2 separate regions of the Homo sapiens genome follow, and region 2 is linked to region 1. The links are contacts of gene promoters, found by promoter capture Hi-C in blood cells and fetal thymus (Javierre and others, 2016). All regions are on one chromosome and are shown on one strand. The core of a region is centred on a gene start or on the middle of the fragment in contact, and the rest is flanking DNA. Distances in the headings are between cores, read along the strand shown.

The links. Contacts are between HindIII fragments. The CHiCAGO score rates a contact against its expected background, and 5 or more counts as called.
Region 2: the fragment with the promoter of CYP11A1 here is called in contact with the fragment with the promoter of FAM219B in region 1 in 1 of 17 cell types (M2 macrophages); the score reaches 5.5 in M2 macrophages.

The regions. Positions count from the first base shown.
Region 1 is chr15:74,903,749-74,909,197 of GRCh38, forward strand. It overlaps FAM219B (family with sequence similarity 219 member B), which reads right to left and starts at 3,103. Exons shown (of 5, transcript NM_020447.5): 1 at 2,839-3,103; 2 at 2,530-2,617; 3 at 1,406-1,483; 4 at 916-964. The coding sequence starts at 3,052. RefSeq lists enhancers at 1,713-2,519, 2,520-3,324, 3,166-3,445 and a silencer at 2,806-3,105. The HindIII fragment of the contact is 3,941 bases long and covers 241-4,181 here.
Region 2 is chr15:74,363,819-74,369,267 of GRCh38, forward strand. CYP11A1 (cytochrome P450 family 11 subfamily A member 1) reads right to left here and starts at 3,828. Exons shown (of 9, transcript NM_000781.3): 1 at 3,499-3,828. The coding sequence starts at 3,767. It overlaps LOC124903524 (a long non-coding RNA gene), which reads left to right and starts at 1,644. Exons shown (of 2, transcript XR_007064709.1): 1 at 1,644-1,687; 2 at 1,844-5,449. RefSeq lists a silencer at 2,211-2,370, a promoter at 3,778-5,449 and enhancers at 3,960-3,984, 5,406-5,449. The HindIII fragment of the contact is 5,873 bases long and covers 303-5,449 here.

The sequences.
Region 1 (5,449 bases), core at 1,853-4,352:
GAGATTAGCCAAGATTTCCAGGAGAGTAAGAAAAGCAAGTGGTGTAGAGTCAGGTCCCCAGCACTTCACCTCTGTCAAAGGGAATGGGCTTCACTTGCCAGGATTTTACATCCCTGTTTTTCTATCTGGGACAGTCACTCTAGAAAAATGTCTACATGGCTATCCCAGGAGTGTTTTAGCCTGAGTTTTCATAGATGGAACAACTGAAGAAACAGAAGTTGTTTGGTCTGGAAGAAAGCAAGCTTGGTGAAAGATGGGCAGGGGAGAGACGGAAATGCTGATCTCAGAGAAACTAGAGTTGCTGTGTGACACTGGAAAGCAGGTCAAGGACCAATGGACCCATTCAGATTAATAAGGAAGATTTCTCTAACAGCTACTCAAAGAAAAAATTCTGTGTGTGTTGAGGGAAGGGTGGGTAGCAAGGCTCCTTGGAGGTGGTCAGTACCCAATTACAAAAAGCATTCAAGTAAGCACAGACTAGCAAACACTTAGCTGGGATCTATCAAAAGGGTTCCTTTTGTAAGCTGTGGCCTAGAAGACTTTTATTTTAGAGTCTTATTTTAGAGACAGGGTCTTGCTATATTGTCCAGGCTGGTCTTGGAACTCCTGGGCTCAAGCAATCCTCCTGCCTCAGCCTCCCTAGTAGCTGGGACTACAGGCATGTACCACCATGCCCAGCTTACATGACTTCTGAGATCATTTCTAGCCCTGAGTCTAAATGGTCTCCTCGATTCTCAACAGCCCTCCTTGGTCACCTATACCTCCACCGGGGGAAGAGGGCAGAGTGGAAGATCGTAGAACAGACCAGAAGTCTGGCACAGTGCTGTGCTCACAGCGGGCACCAAACAAGCATTTGGCAGTGGTGGTAATGCTGCCTGCAGCCTGGCCCTGCACAGAAAGGTGTTCTGGACTTGCCTCTGCAGATGAATACCCGGAGGAGTATCTGGATCCCAGCTCCCCATCACTAGGAGAAGAGGAAAACAGTCAGTTCCGGGAGGTACCTGTGGTGCACAGCTGTAAATCATCAGGCGGAGAGCATGCAAGGGCATCTGGAAGACTTTTGAAGCAAAGGCCACACACAACAGAACTCAAGTCCGAACAGGCCTTGAATAATACTGGTTCCCTCAATTGGTTCTGGCAGGGACAGGGTCACTCTCACTAACAATGCAAACATAACAGGGCAGGATGATCCCCCGGACATTGGTGCTCCGAATTCTAGAGCAGCACGATTACCTATGAGTCTTCTAACCAAGCCATCCTGGGAAGGGATATTGTTCAGAAGAGAACGGCCCTGGAATGTACATGAAGGGCCTTGGAGGAGACAGGGAACAAGCAAAGGCATCAGGCGATCTTCAGTCCCAGCCAAGTTGCTTCCCAAGGGGGTATTTCCAAGGGGAGCACTCACCTGTCAGAGTCGAGGGACACCAGGTTTTCATCTGGACTCTGGCTAAGAGCAGTATAGCCCTTGTTAAACTTCACTGACCTGAGGGGAGACGGGGGAGAAGAGACCAAACATAGATGAAAGCATAGGCATTTCACAGGGATAGGCAGAGTCCTCGCCCTGAAGGAGAAAGAATTGACTGCACTACTGACTTGCCTTCTCCCTGGTCACAGCCACCACTGCCTGCAGCTCCATGTACCTGGCTACAGTGCCTCAGAATGTGTATGTTCTCATTCTTTTTTTCTTTTTTTGGAGACAGAGTCTGGCCCTGTCACCCAGGCTGCAGTGCAGTGGCGCGATCTCGGCTCACTGCAATCTCCGCCTACCATGCTCAAGTGATTTTCCTGCCTCAGCCTCTTGAGTAGCTGGGACTACAGGCGTGCCCAGCTAATTTTGTATTTTTAATAGAGACGGGCTTTCACCATGTTGGCCAGGCTGGTCTCGAACTCCTGACTTCAAGTGATCCACCCGCCTCGGCTTCCCAAAGTGCTGGAATTACAGTCGTGAGCCACCACGCCCGGCCTGTATTCTACTCCTCCCATAGGTCTTGGAAAAAAGCACACCTCCCCTTGCCTGATCTAGGAAAAGCACCCTCTCCCCACTTATTTAATCAGAGGACACAAAAACTGCAAGTCTTTGGGTAAAAGGTTAGGGTTAACCTTCACTTCTCCGAGTTTCAACCCTCATCTGTAAAAGGAGGCACTGAATAAGGTTCTATGCAGCTCCGAGTTTACTATTCTGTTAAAAACAAACAAACAAAAACAGGTCTAGCCATTCCCACACTGCTCTTCGTCCTCATTGCTGGGGACTCCAGCCACCATTCTCCTCCCTAACAGAGGAGGAGAATGATAGTGAATGAGCCTGTGCACTCACAGAACTCCCTTATTCCGAAGCCCTTTATCTGATCCTATCACATCCTTAAAGGAAAAGAGAGATTGTTCCTCTTCCCATTTTAAAGATAGTGAACCTGACAGGTTGCATCAGGGGAATCGCTAGCTCGGCCTTAAACCAGAGCACCCTGCCTCCGTCCTGGGGATTAAAGCCTTCTCTAAAGCTGCTGGCACAGAGGAGGTGGCGCCTGCTGAGACCTTTTCCCTGAAGAGTCTGGGCGGTTCGGCGAGGCCCCCAGCATGCCTTTTCTCCGCAGAACGGCCTTGGCCAGGTCCCGGTGCTTCTCTGGAAGTTAAAGGACCCGGGTCAGCCGGGTCTTCCCCACTCCGCCGCGTCTCCCGAAGGCTGGGAGGCCGCTCTTTCCGAACGGATTTTGAGGGGCGAGAGCAGGCTGCAGCTAACCCCTTCCCTCCGGGGCCGAGGCCCAGCGGAGCTCCGGAACCCGCCCTGGGGACGCGGCCGCCCGCCCAGGGAGAAACCTCCCCCGACCATCGGGCCACACTCACGCAGCTTGGCTTGAATGGAGGGTGCGCGCGTCACCATGTATGGCCCCCGCTTTTCCACGGCCGCGGGGGTGCGCTCCCCCAGACGGAGGGCTCTATTACCGATCTGCCCGGAGGGTGGCCCCGCAGCTCCCGGCGCGCGGTCCCGAGCCCCGCTGGGCCGGGGTCCCGGGGTAGACAACCGCAACGCGCGCCCGCTGGGCTCCGCGGTCGCCATGGCCGGGCCCCGCCCTGCCGGATGGTGCAACCCCGCCCGTGGCGAAAGAGTGACCGGCCGAGGGAGAGGCGGGCTCTTTTAACAAGATGGCGGTGCGCAGGCGCAGGTAGTCCCCTTTCGGAGCTCTCCGGTTCGGTAGTCTGAGGACTTGGCCGAAATGTTCCGCCCTTCTTTTCGGGGGGACCGGGCAGTTCCGTTCTCGGTTTTGGGGTAGGCGGCTTGAGCCTGGTGATGGTTAGGCTTAGTTCTGTCTCTAGTGGAAATTAAATACTGATACTGTCGTGGGGCTGCGCGTGTGCGTCGGTCGGGTGCCCACGGTTTGAGTCCTGGCGCGCCGCACTCTGTGCTTCTCGCAGTGTCTCCTTGGGGGTCTCCCCACATGTGGGGCTGCCAGAGAGCAGACTTGGGTTGAAGAGTCATATGAGGACAAGCGTTATCAGCGACCTTTTCTAGCAAAAGAAACAGGCCCCAGAAGTTAAAGAACCTTGTGAAGGTGACACATCTAGAGGCAGTGCTTGCGCTGATCCATCTGACGCCAAACCCCACCTTCTTTCCAACACCAATTGGTGCCTGTGACATTGGACAGGACCTGACCCTCTCTAGGCCTCAGTTTCCACATTTAAAAATAGAGCCAATGTCACTACTCATTGTACAGTGAGGCAAATAGGCGTTGAAAAGGAGGGTGAAAGTGCACTCTGAGTCTGTGTGTGGTAGGCTATGTGTCAGGGCTCTTGACTTCTCTAGCCCCCAAGGGATGTGCTTGTGACTGGCTGGAAAGAAACTCCAGATCCTTGTAGAACTCCCAAATCTCATGAGGCTGTCCCTTGACTAACTTACTGGCTTCAATAGGGTAGGTCAACAGTGTGCAACCTCCGAGCTCCCAGGGCCACGCAGACCGTTGGGTGGCACTATGCCTTGGGCAAGAGAGGTGAAAAGGAAGAATTTAGGGCTGAAGTTTTCAAAAATCAAAAGCACAAAGGAATCCTTACCATTTTGGTAGATTCCCCCCACTCCCCATGATGTTAGACTGTTTTTGCCTCCAGAAACAGCAGGTTCATATAGCTCAACTTAGTATTTAATGGTTATAACCTCCCAATGAAGCCAATAGTTATTCTTGTTAAACAAATGAAGCTTAGACTTGGTCAAGTTTACCAGTTAAGTGATAAACCTGGAATTTGTACCCAGTTGCCTGTGGACTCCAAAGAAGTAGTTTTCTGGCCGGGCACAGTGGCTCACATCTGTAATCCCAGCACTTTGGGAGGCTGAGGCAGGCGGATCACCCGAGGTAGGGAGTTCAAGACCAGCTTGGCCAACATGGTGAAACCCCATCTCTACTGAAAATACAAAATTAGCCGGGCGTGGTGGCGGGTGCCTATAATCCTAGCTATTCAGGGGCTGAGGCAGGAGAATCGCTTGAACCCAGGAGGCGGAGGTTGCAGTGAGCCGAGATCAGGCCACTGCACTCCAGCCTAGGCAACAGAGCAAGACGCTGTCTCAAAAACAACCAACCAACCACCCCCCAGCCAAAAAAAAAAAAAAAAAAAACCAACAAAAAAACAACGAAGTGGTTTTCTCCTGGTTATGCTGATGTGGACATCACCAAGGGCCAAAGAAAATGTGATTTAAACCAGCAGTCTCCAGCCTTTTTGGCACTAGGGGTTGGTTTTGTGGAAGACAGTTTTTCCACGGGGTGGAAATGCGGGGGCTGGTTTTGGGATGATTCAAGCACATTTATTGTGCACTTTATTATTACATTACAATATATAATGAAATAATTATACAACTCAACTTAGAATCAGTAGGAGCCCCAAGCTTGTTTTCCTGCAACTAGACGGTCCCATCTGGGTGTGATGGGAGACAATGACAGATCATCAGGCATTAGATTCTCATAAGGAGCCCACAACCTAGATCCCTTGCATGTGTGGTTCACAATAGGGTTCATGCTGCTATATGACTCTAATGCCACGGCTTATCTGACAGGAGGCGGACGGAGCTCAGGTGGTAATGTGAGCAATGGGGAGCCACTGTAAATACAGATGAAGCTTTGCTCACTCATGGACCAGTATCCATCCATGGCCTGGGGCTTGGGAACCCCGACCTAAACCCACTTAATGTCACAAGATCACTAGGAACTTGTAGCAAAAGTGTGACAGCCTTCATGCACACTCCTCCCAATCTTCCATCAATAATGCTGTTAACTGCTGACTGATTGAACATAGACCCTGAAGCCAAATTATTTGCTCTGTTACCTACTGGCAAATTATTAAACCTCTTTATGTCTCAGTTTCTTTAGCTAAGTGGAGATAAGAAAACCCATCTAATGGAAGTGGAATTGTGAAGTTCAGTTGTAAAGTGTTTAGAATGACACCTGGCAAATAGTAAGTGTTCAAGAAATAT
Region 2 (5,449 bases), core at 2,578-5,077, 540 kb before region 1:
TTGGTCACACTCTCACCTAAGTGAAAACCTGATCAAAAAGGGAATTTTTTTCAACAAAATTCTGGGAGGCCGTTGTTTTGGACTGATCTCATGCACTAGGCCCCAACAAACCAAACAAAACCAAAATGGGGCCACTCATGCCAAGACTTTAAGGAAACACATAGATTCTAGAAAAGACTAGGTTTTGTTTTTTCTTCTGCAAATCACTACAACAAACATTTCTGACAGTATAGGTATCCACCCCCTAAAGTTTCCATTAAATCTTTTAACCAAATTCATTTCCTCTCACCTAGAGACCATCAAGCTTCAGATGATCATGTAACAAAGGTTCCAGCCAGTTCCAAGTGAAGACACCACCCCTGGACATCAAGAAGCTACCCTTCCTCCACTAGATAGAGCAGGGTGAGAGTTCCATGATCCCCAATAGGTAGGGACTATGCCCCAAGCCAGCATGAAGCAGTTACAGAAAAAAGACCATCGGTCCCTCTGCCTCCCATAAAGATTTATGGGGATCACATCTCTTGAAGGGGCAGATGAGGCAGGAAAATAGGGTCTGAAGTGTGAAGATCGATTCACACTTCAGCTATAACAGGAAATATCCTCTCCATAGGGTGTATGACTATGTAACTTGAATACTTCATCCTCTCCATTTACATAAGGTGTATCTGAAGTAACCAATGGAATCCTCTGGGGGTAAATGCCCCACAATTCTGTAACGGGACCTTTGAGCCCCTACGCTCCGCCTGCTCCCACACTGTGGTGTGTATGTTCATTTTCAATAAATCCCTTCATTCCTTCCTTACTTTGTCTGTGCATTTTGTCCAATTCTTTGTTCAAGACGCCAAGAACCTGGACACCCTCCACCGGTAACAAAGGGGCTTAATAAAATAAGGAGTTGCTACTGAGGGTCTAGGAAGTGGTGAAAAGGGAAGAGAGGAGGAAGCAAGGATAACTAGAGATCTATGTGAAGTGAGCACGGGACAGAAGCACTAATAGGCCTAGGAGAGAGGGGGAGGAAGGAGAGACCCAGCGGGGCGCAACCTCCCAAGCCCAGCACTCAACCTTGAATAGGGTGGGGTGCGGGGTGGGGGGAGCTCCCTGCCACCAACCAGCTATCAAAAGGGGCAGTTTGGACTTTAAAGGAGTTGTGAGAGAGGGAGGGAGCAGCTGAAGCCCCAACACAAACTAGCCTGCCTTCTCACCCACCCCCAGCCCAGTCATCAAGCCGGCCAACACATCTTACCCTTCCCTCTTCGTGACTGACCCATTGGAATGCTCTGAGTTGTAAAGACCTTTCACTTAAAGGAAAACGTACTGTCCCTCCTGGTCTCCCCTCCCAGCCCCCAACCACCCCTGCGCCACCTCCGTTCCCTCTCAACCGGACTCTTAGCAAAGAACCCAGGTGTGGCTGAAAGGCTGCCCACCGTGGGAACAGCTTTAGCAGTTTTCCCAGGAAAAAGCCACAAGCCCTGGAGGCACAGAGGCCCAAAGACAAAAAAAAAAAAAAAAGGCCTTTCCTCCTAGCAGGAAGCAAGCCCGATTCTTGGGAAAGGGAAGGGACAGACTCAGAGCCTCAGGGCCAAGGGGTGAGATCCAGCACCCCAGCAGGACAGGAATCTAGCTGGGTGACCTCTCTGAGCCTCAGTCTCCTCCTCTGACCATGGGGACAACAAACTTCGCTTGCAAGGTGTGCGGAGGGTAACGGATGTAGGGAGGCATTTAGTAGGGCTTGTTCTCTAACCACCTCTCTCCGAGAGTTTCAAAGGGAGTGGGATCTGGGGAAGGTTGAGGCCTCAGGCCTGGGAACTAGGAATACTTTCCCTTTTACCCACCACCATCCCAGGCCTGGAAGAAGATCAGAAGTTGGACAGGAGAGGTCCGGCCGCGCGGACGTCACCTTAGCGCGCCACTGTCGGCTCCGGTGGGCTCGGGTGAGCTCGGGTGAACGCAGCGAGCGAGGGCAGAGGCCAGCAGAGGCGAGGAGTGGATGCTGCAGGGCCGCAGGCCGGGCAGAGAAACGCATACCGGGTCGCTCCCTGCTTCGCCGCCGCCTCCTGGCAGGGCCAGCGAAGCCAGTGCTCCAGCGCCCCCGTAACACCTCAAAGCGCACGGAGTCCGTGTTGGGGAACTTGGCGGCAGAGTGACTGGGACCTAGGACCTGCGGTGGGGCCGCCGCCGCCTCCGCGGGGCCGAGCGCCTGGACCTCGCCCTGAGGTAAACGCGGGTCGACCCGGGGGGCGGATGGGCTCGGGCTGTGTCGAGGGGAGGCGGAGGTGAGCGACCCGCGAAGAGCGCAGGAGCAGGCCGGGGGCCACGCTAGGGCGGACCCAATTTCGGAATAGCGCGGCCCGGGCGGCGGCGTGCGCTGGGAGGAATGCTGGGTCTGTCGCTAGCGCCAAACTTGACCACGCTGCGACCTTTTCACTCTGTGCTCTGACCTTCAAATCTCCCTCCCCCGATTTTTTTTTTTTTTTTTTTTTTGAGACAGAGTTTCGCTTTTGTTGCCCAGGGCGGGAGTGCAGTGACATGATCTCGGCTCACTGCAACCTCCACCTCCTGGGTTCGGGCGAGTGTCCTGCCTCAGCCTCCCGAGTAGCTGGGATTATAGACCCCCGCCACCATGCCCGGCTAATTTTTTTTATTTTATTTATTTATTTATTTATTTATTTATTTATTTTTGTAGTAGAGACAGGGTTTCACCATGTTGGCCGGGTTGATCTCGAACTCCTGTCCTCAAGTGATCCGCCTGCCTCAGCCTCCCAAAGTGCTGGGATTACAAGCGTGAGCCACCGCACCCGGCCTTCTCCCAATTTTTAAAACTCGCTGGCTGGGCTGACAGCTACAGGGCCAGGAATTCAAAACTTAGCCTCACCAGTCTCCCCTCCTCAGACCGAGGAGGTTGTTTTGTTTTGTTTGAGACAGAATCTCACTCTGTCGCCCAGGCTGGATTGCAATGGTGCGATCTCGGCTCACTGCAACCTCTGCCTCTCCGGTTCAAGCCATTCTCCTGCTTCAGCCTCCCGAGTAGCTGGGATTACAGGCGCCTGCCACCACACCCAGCTAATTTTTGTATTTTTAGTAGAGACGGGGTTTCATCATGTTGGCCAGGATGGTCTCGAACTCTTGATCTCAAGTGATCCGCCCACCTCGGCCTCCCAAAGTGCTGGGATTATGGGTGTGAGCCACCATGCCTGGCCAGACCTGGGGTTTGGACCCATTAAAGAGCTTCCTTACAGATGGCTGGCGGTCTTGCCACCAATTGTTTCAAAAGTAGATGTCTGGTTTAGAGTACTTAAGACATTCACAGATTCAAATGTTGAATTTTGAAATATCCCTGATATATTTCTGTATTGTATTACCAAAAAAAAAAAAAAAAAAGAAGTTAGACAGGAGTTTGGAACCAGAGAACAGCCTGTTGGGGGAGTGGGGACTACAGCAGGGCTACCCAGGCCCCTCCTCCTCCCTGTCCCTTCGGCTCCCACCCTCTGCCAGGCTTACCTGTAAATCGGGCCATACTTCTGGAAATTCTGGACATGGTGAAGGTGGACTTTGTGTGTGCCCGTCTCCCTCCAGAAATGGTACAGGTTTAGCCAGCCATTGTCACCAGGAGAGGGGATCTCATTGAAGGGGCGAGGACTGCGGGTGGAGATGCCAGCTCCCTCGCCAGTGGGCACCCTGAGACGCCCCAGCCCCTCCCTGGGGGCACTCAGAAAGGTCTGGCAGCCTTTGACCAGGACTGAGCGTGGGGGAAGACCCTTGGCCAGCATGCTGTCCCCACAGCTGTGACTGTACCTGCTCCACTTCAGCGGGGACTGCTAGGATGACTGTAGCCCTGGGCCACCAGGGCCAAGATTATAACTACCAGCTCAAGGCCATACCAGAAGCTGATAAAATGTTCACGTCCTTCCTCCTGCTGCAGGCTCAAACCCGCAGACAGCTCCTCCCCTACTCGGTATGAAGGTTCAGTCTGGAATTTCTGCAGCGTGAGGTTCTCCAAAGGACAGGGAGACCCCTCTGTCTCTGCCCTCAGTGCCAGCCCTAGCAGACTCCTGAAATATCTGCCTGTGCTTTTGCCTGAGCTGGGGCCTCCCACTGGCCCCTGCAGCGGAGTCCATGCCCTGGCAGCCATTGGTCAAGACTGCAGACAACCTGTGTTTGGGGGAAATGAGGGGCCCAAGAGAAGGTCAGAGCTATCTTGCCAGCTTGGGCAACATACGTCTTAGTTATGGCCCCACTGTATAGACACACATCATTGAACAACAGGGATAAGTTCTGAGAAATGCATCCTTAGGCTATTTTATTTTATTTTATTTTATTTTATTTTATTTTATTTTAAGAGAGTTTCATTCTTGTTGCCCAGGCTGGAGCGCAATGGCACAGTTTCACCTTGGAACCCTAATCCTCGTCGTCTCTCCCCAGTTGACCCAGATTTGGGGCTGTAATTCAGTACAGCTGACTCAGAGGGGCTCTGGGTCCCTTGAGCTGAGGTCTGTGGTCAGGCTCCACTCTGGACACACTCTAAGACCTTGGCAAATCTGGTTGCCATGGAACTCAGGATGTCAGCTCTTCCCTGTCCACACACTTGATCTGTGCTGCTTTCCCCTCAGAGCTGCTTCCATACCCCCTCCCATCATATCATATCCCCAGACCCATCCTTCCAGCCCAGGTCAGCCCCCACACCCACCCCCCATCACCCTGCACCTACCACTTTCCCAAACAACAAGGGTCAGTCACCTGTAGAGTTTTCAAGTCATTTCAACAAAATTACAGCCCACTTGGTAAAAATGTGTAGGTCAGAAAACATACATGTGCCATGTAGAGCATTTCATGACAGCAATCTACACTATACCTTATACTTATCATTGGAAGGTACAACTTCTTGCTTTTTTTCCCCAAAATCTTATTTTCTGGCAAATAAGGCATTTAAAACACACATCTAAGAGACAGAAAATAGACTGGTGGTTGCTTAGAGCTAGGGGGATAGAGGAATTAGAGGATGGGACATAAAGTGTGTAGGGATTCTTAGGATGATGAAAATGAAAATATTCTAAAGTATATTGTGGTAATTATTGAACAACTCTCTGATACACTAAAAGCCATTGAATTGCATACTTTAAATGGGTGAATTGTATGGTGTGTGAATTATATCTCAATAGAGCTGTTACCAAACACACACACACACACACACACACGAGTGACATCCTCCTGGCCTCTTCTGTTGTATGTGTCAGCCCATAGATCACCCACAATGGCAAAAGTTGTCCTTACACAGCCACTTGACCCCAGACTCCAATACTGTTGAACCACTTTCAACAAATTTAGAGCAACAGTTTTTAGAAGAAAAAAAAAAAGTACTTATCAAGAGTGGTTGTTGCTCTTCCCGCTGGAGTGACCACTACCTCATCAGTCATGAACCTTCTGATAAAGAGAGTATGGAGAAAGCCTGTTT